2 separate regions of the Homo sapiens genome follow, and region 1 is linked to region 2. The links are contacts of gene promoters, found by promoter capture Hi-C in human tissues and cell types (Jung and others, 2019). All regions are on one chromosome and are shown on one strand. Each heading gives the region's core, a stretch centred on a gene start or on the middle of the fragment in contact. The rest is flanking DNA. Distances are from core to core; before and after follow the strand shown. Region 1 overlaps ZKSCAN1 (zinc finger with KRAB and SCAN domains 1). Region 2 holds the start of SAP25 (Sin3A associated protein 25).

What was found. The method cuts DNA at HindIII sites, captures the fragments that hold promoters and counts their contacts. A contact is called where the count stands out against the background at its distance.
Region 1: a fragment that was not itself captured here is called in contact with the fragment with the promoter of SAP25 in region 2 in 1 of the 25 tissues and cell types used here (spleen).

Annotation. Positions count from the first base shown.
Region 1 is chr7:100,040,521-100,043,617 of GRCh38, reverse strand. It overlaps ZKSCAN1 (zinc finger with KRAB and SCAN domains 1), which reads right to left. Exons shown (of 6, transcript NM_003439.4): 6 at 1,929-3,097. Among named protein-coding and RNA genes, the nearest start is that of ZSCAN21, 7.7 kb to the left of the region's middle. The HindIII fragment of the contact is 5,629 bases long and covers 1-3,097 here.
Region 2 is chr7:100,572,649-100,575,999 of GRCh38, reverse strand. SAP25 (Sin3A associated protein 25) reads left to right here and starts at 2,100. Exons shown (of 6, transcript NM_001348680.2): 1 at 2,100-2,403; 2 at 2,600-2,703; 3 at 2,788-2,894; 4 at 2,987-3,140; 5 at 3,249-3,346. The coding sequence starts at 2,258. It overlaps LRCH4 (leucine rich repeats and calponin homology domain containing 4), which reads left to right. Exons shown (of 18, transcript NM_002319.5): 16 at 1-129; 17 at 218-295; 18 at 696-1,989. The coding sequence ends at 893. RefSeq lists enhancers at 128-681, 682-1,236. The HindIII fragment of the contact is 26,041 bases long and covers 1-3,351 here.

The DNA of each region.
Region 1 (3,097 bases), core at 320-2,819, 530 kb after region 2:
GGATTGCTTGAGGCCCAGGAATTTGAGACCAGCCTGGGCAACATAGCAAGACCCTGTCTCTGCAAAAAATTAAAAAAAAATCTAGGCGTAGTGATGCATGCCTGTAGTCCCAGCTGAGGCTGAAATAGGAGGATTGCTTGAGTCCAGGAGGTTGAGGTTGCAGTGAGCCACAATCGTGCCACTGCACTCCAGCCTGAGCAACAGAACGAGACTTGTCTTACAAAAATAAAGAAAAATAAAATCCAGTTCTGGGTCGGGCACAGTGGCTCACGCCTGTAATCCCAGCACTTTGGGAGGCCAAGGTGGGAGGATTGCTTGAGGACAGGAGTTCGAGACCAGCCTGGGCAACATAGGGGGACCCCCATCTCTATAAAAGAAAAAATAATTATTAAGAAAAAATAGGGCTGGGTGTGGTGGCTCACACCTGTGAGGCCAAGGCAGGCAGATCACTTGAGCCCAAGAGTTCAAGACCAGCTTGGGAAATAGCCAGACTGTCACTACAAAAAATACCCAAAAAAGGCCAGGTGCGGTGGCTCACGCCTGTAATCCCAGCACTTTGGGAGGCCTAGGCAGGCAGATCATGAGGTCAGGAGATCGAGACCATCCTGGCTAACACTATGAAACCCCGTCTCTACTAAAACATACAAAAAAAGTTAGCCGGGCACAGTGGCGGGCGCCTGTAGTCCCAGCTACTCGGGAGGCTGAGGCAAGAGAATGGCGGGAACCCGGGAGGCGGAGCTTGCAGTGAGCCGAGATGGCGCCACTGCACGCCAGCCTGGGAGACAGAGCGAGACTCCGTCTAAAAAAAAAAAAAAAAAAACCCAAAAATTACCTGGGTGTGGTGGTGTATTCGTATACACACACACACACACACACACACGTGTATCTATACACATATACACATACACATGTGTATATATAATAAAAATATATATGAGACCTATGAGCCATCCCAGCAAATTATCAAACCTGAGACTGAGGAGAAGATTGTGGAAGCCCTTGATTTATAGCCGGTCCAAAGCACAGGTGAAAACCCGGAATGTAAGACTGGCGTCTGAAATGGGGGCAGTCTTGAGGGACTGAGCCCACAACCTGTGGAGTCTGCATCAGTTACAGGTAGTGTCAGAATTGAATTGAATCGTATGGCACCCAGTTGGTGTCCAGAGAATTGGTTGGTGTATGAAAAAAAATCCCACATTGTGTCAGAAGTGTGAGTAAAAACAGTCAGAGATGTGTTTGGATGCCTCCTGGACACAACCTCACATCCTCCCAGTTCACCTTTTTTTTTTTTTTTTTTTTGAGACAAAGTCTCACTCTGTTGCCCAAGCTGGAGTGCAGTGGTGCGATCTCGGCTCACTGCAACCTCCCCCTCCTGGGTTCAAGTGATTCTCCTGGCTCAGCCTCCCGAGTAGCTGGGACTACAGGCGCCCGCCACCACGCCTGGTTAATTTTTGTATTTTTAGTAGAGAGGGGGTTTCACCATGTTGGCCAGGCTGGTTTCGAACTCCTGGCCTCAGGTGATCTGCCTGCCTCGGCCTCCCAAACTGCAGGGATTACAGGCATAAGCCACCATGGCTGGCCATGTCTATCAGTCTTAAAGAGTCTGTTGTTATCAGTAATTCCATATGGGGAGAGGGTATAATGAGGCATGTTTGGCTCCCCCTTCCCATCATGGCCTGAACTAGTTTTTCAGGTTAACTTTGGAATGCCCTTGGCTGAGAGGAGAGGTCCATTCAGGTGACTGGGTGGCCTTTGAAATTTAATTTTGGTTTGCAAAGTAAACAGATAGTTTTGCATGAGAATTTTGTTTGTGGGTTGCAGCTCCAGTCTTTTAACTTTGGAATACTTTTTTTTCTTCACCCCCAATGTGTATTTATGCAACCAAGGATGAGAAAAACAAAGAACAAAAAACAAACCAGCACAAGCACTGCCACCTAGAGATGATAATTTATTGTTTTACCATGACTCAGAAGAGAAACAACATAAAGAGAATATTTCAAATCCCCACAATTTCCTTCCTCAACCTCACTACTCTTAACATTTCTTTATCAGACGCCACTGGCTTCCTAAAATGGACCACTGACTATGTATGTGTACACATTTCATTATGCTGCCTTTTCTCTTATGATTAAAACTTTAGCCCTCATTCGAGGTTTCCAATGGTTACTTTTAGTGGAGGAGTTCCCTAGCTTTTAAAAAACCACTTTTCCTCTAAGATTCCATTATTTATTGAAAGAAGTCTTTCTAGAAATGTTAAGGAGGATTTTAAATGAACACATTCAATTAAAAAAAAAATCACGTATTGAACATCTACCAAGCATCTGGACTCTTCGGAACCTAGTAAAATGAAAAAATCCAGTTTTAACAACAGTAACTTCATTCTGCGGGTATACAGAGACAAGCACGTTTCTTCTTTTGGTCTAATTTATTCTAAACGAAGAAGCTGGGAACTGACAAAACAGGACAGGTTGTTTTTAATCCAGTCTACAAATAAACAAGACAATGCCTGAGTTAGCCCTCTATATAGATTTAGGCTTATGCTGACCTCGTTGTAAAATCTGTATTTAACTAAAAGTTAATAAAAATACATATGTTCATTTTAAAATAATTACTGATTTTGCTTGGCTATCCCACCCCTTACCCCCAAACTCATATATTTTTAGGACAAGATTTTCCTGCATAACCACAACCTGTCTCCTCCCACCCCACCCCCATCATAGATGTTTTCAAATAAGAACCCCTGCGATCAGCAGAAGCATCTCTAATCTAACATGCTTTGTCCTTGCTAGGGCAGGCTAAAAGCTTTAAAAAGCAACCGGATGCTCTTCTCTGGTTGAGGTGAGGGGAAGGCGCTCGGGTACCAACCCCAGCACACCCCAACAGCCTTTCCTCGGCCCCTCCTCAGGCCTCCTAATTACTCTTTCTCAGCCTGGAGTGTGGGGCCGTTACCGTCCTCTTCCCCCTTCTCCTTCCATACTGCACTTAACCTTGCTGGAAGACTTAATGATGGAGATTTAGGGCAACTGTGGCTGCTTGGACCCTTCCCTGGACCAAAGGAACTTAAAACCCAAACCTGACACTGGAATGAAATCCAAGT
Region 2 (3,351 bases), core at 851-3,350:
TCCCGGCTGCAGCGGCCCCTGCCTGAGGACCTGGCCGAGGCTCTGGCCAGTGGGGTCATCCTGTGCCAGCTGGCCAACCAGCTACGGCCGCGCTCCGTGCCCTTCATCCATGTGCCCTCCCCTGCTGTGGTCAGTTGGGGCTGGGGAAGAGGTGGGGGATGGGCCGGGGCGCCTGTGGCCTCTCCCTTACCACATTTTCTTCTTTCACCCACCCCAGCCAAAACTCAGTGCCCTCAAGGCTCGGAAGAATGTGGAGAGTTTTCTAGAAGCCTGTCGAAAAATGGGGGTGCCTGAGGTATGGGGGCTGCTTTCTAAAGAGTGGTGGCATGCCGGACTCAGCCGAGCATGTGGCATGGATGGTGGGCTTCCATTTGCAGCGGATGTCTGCTCTCAGATGAAGGCACAGGCTGCCCCTGCCCTGCCCAGCATGCCCCCTGCCCTGCATGCCCCCTGCCCTGCATGTCACCTGTCCTACACATCCCCTGCCCTGCAGGCCCCATCTTGTCCTGCATGTCACCTGTCCTGCACATGCCCTGCCCTGCACTCCTCCTGCACTGCACTCCCCCTGCCCAGCACGTCAGCATGTGGGCGTGGTTCTGGCCCCAGCACGTGAGGGCAGGGGTGGGAGGGACTGTCCTGCTGCTGCTGCTGACGTCTGTCCCTTGTCCTTGTCCACCTGCTCTCCTCTCCCCCAGGCTGACCTGTGCTCGCCCTCGGATCTCCTCCAGGGCACTGCCCGGGGGCTGCGGACCGCGCTGGAGGCCGTGAAGCGGGTGGGGGGCAAGGCCCTACCGCCCCTCTGGCCCCCCTCTGGTCTGGGCGGCTTCGTCGTCTTCTACGTGGTCCTCATGCTGCTGCTCTATGTCACCTACACTCGGCTCCTGGGTTCCTAGGCCCCAAAATCGGCCCTCCCTCACCCCTTTCCCTTCCTCTCTATTTATAAGGTCCCTGCTCCACCCGACCCCACCTGCGGTGCCTTCAGCCCCAACCAAAGACACTAGTGCACCCCCTTCACAGACACTGACCTCAGAGGCCCCACTCTGGTGCCCCCAGACCCTGGGCCCCCAGCCTCTGGCCTCCCTCCAGTAGCCCCACGAGTCCCCACCTCTCAGTGCTGACGGTGCCTTCATGTCCCCGCCGGCCCTGCCCCTGCCCTCTGTACCCCGTGAGGGGTGGCAGGAGCTGGAGTCTCCCCCTTCCTCCTGTGCCCTCCCCTTCCCCCCCCAACAGCTGCTATGGGGGGGCTAAATTATCTCTATTTTGTAGAGAGGATCTATATTTGTAGGGGTTCGGGGCCCAGGCCGGGTCCCTATCTCTGTGTATAAACTGTACAGACCGTGGCCGCCCTGCCTGTGTGTGTGTGTGTGCGCGCGCGCGCGCGTCTGCTCCGCGTGTTGGTGGCTGTGGCCATGGCTCTGTGCCCACCAGCATCTCCCTCCTGAGATGCCGGCCTCTCATGCTCCCGGAGCGTCCGCCAACCCCCCGTGTCACCTCCCTTCTGTTATCGCTGACAGCTTTCTTGCGTCTCATTTGTCGCCGAGCCCCGAGCGCACGGTGATGCTCGGGTCTGCCCCCGACCCCCTGCCACAGGCCGGAAGCCGCAGGGGGCACCGTGGGGAAGCTAACCCGGCCCCTTCCCCCAGGAGTCACTGTGCCAGCCCCACCACATCCTGGAAGAGGAGGGGGCCCCGGGAAGGGGCCTCCCCTACATCGCTGCTGTCGTCCACGCCCTGCTGGACCGGCCTTAGGGGTGAAGGTGGGGGCACAGGGCCCACCCCGCCCGGGACCCCGGGAGCAGAAGACGCGCCTGGGCTCCGCGCTCTCAGAGAAGCACGTGGTGAGGGTGGCCTGGGCCTGGGCACCCTTGGCCTGCCGGCCTGGCTGCCTCTGGGGTCGAGGGTCTGGGTGGAAGGACCGCGGGTGTCGCAGGTGTCGTGTCAGCCGCAATAAACAGAAGCCAGAAGCCCTCTGGGTGGCCCTCAGGTGTAACTGTGTCTGAGAGCACGTGCGTCGCGGGGTTGTTGGGGGGGCCTCTGTTTCCGGAATTCACCGCCCAGTCGCCAGGGGGCGCCCGCGGGAGCCCGGCGGGGGCACGCGCCACGTGGCCGGGAGACGCACAGGGCGCCAGCGTCGCCGCGAGGCCTCTGGGGTGGGTTCGCCAGGAGGGCACGTTCGCGCCGCGCCGCGGAGGGAGGCTGAGAGGGCCGGGCCGGGCGGCGGGGACACGGCGGTACCGTCCTGCGCTCGGGAACGCGGAATGTTGCCCTGGTCGCCGCCGCGGTGGGGCGCGGGCCCGGAGGAGGCGCCCGAGGGACCAGGCCTTCCGGCGGGCAAGGACCAGGGCGAGCCCTGGAGCGCCGGAGCGGACGCCCCCAGGGAGCTGGGGACACCCCCATGGGACAGGTGAGGGGCTCGGACGGAGCCGTGGGGGGACAGCGACTGGGGGCCTCCATGCCTTCACCACGCGCTCTACGGAGGCTTCTCCATTGTCCCTGCTGGAGATTGGGTCCCTCGGTCTCCCTTGCACCAGGCACCCTTGGGCTCCAGGGGAGGGTGCGTGGGGGCGGTGTGGCTGCAGCCTCAGTCCCTGCCCCTCCAGCCCACAGCCCCCATCCCGTAGCCCTTCCTGGATCTGGAGAGAGCAGCTGCTGCTGCCCCACCACCTGCCAGGCCCGGCCACTGAGCAGCCCCCCGGAGCCCCAGGTAGGACAGGCCCTGCTGCCTCTACTACCCCTAAGAGCCTCTCACTGACTGTGAGCCTGTTATAATCCCCAAGCGTCCCCCCAGATCCCCGTTCCCCCCAGGTGGCCTGGGAGGTGGCCCCCTCGAGGATGACTCCACTAGCGCCCTGGGACCCCAAGTATGAAGCCAAAGCAGGACCTCGGCCGGTGTGGGTGAGTTGGGGGCAAACCTGTGGGACTGGCTGGGGTGCTCAGGGAGCTGTGCGGTGGCCTGAGGCTCCAGTGCTCTGTCCTCCTCACCCTAGGGGGCCAACTGTAGCTCAGGAGCCTCGTTCTCAGGCCGGACGCTGTGTCACCCCTCATTCTGGCCGCTGTATGAAGCAGCCTCGGGCAGGGGTCTCAGGCCCGTGGCCCCTGCCACAGGGCACTGGAATGGACAGCAGGCGCCCCCAGATGCAGGTACCTCCCTTGGTCCCCCGGGGGCGCAAGGCTGCCCCAACTCCTCTGGGAACCAGTGCCCAGGGGTGGGAGCCCGCAGCCCGCCACCCTAGTGGTGTTTCCTCCTAGGGTTCCCGGTGGTGTGCTGTGAAGATGTCTTCCTCTCGGACCCTCTGCTGCCCCGGGGGCAGCGTGTTCCCCTGTACCTGTCCAAGGCCCCCCAGCAGGTGAG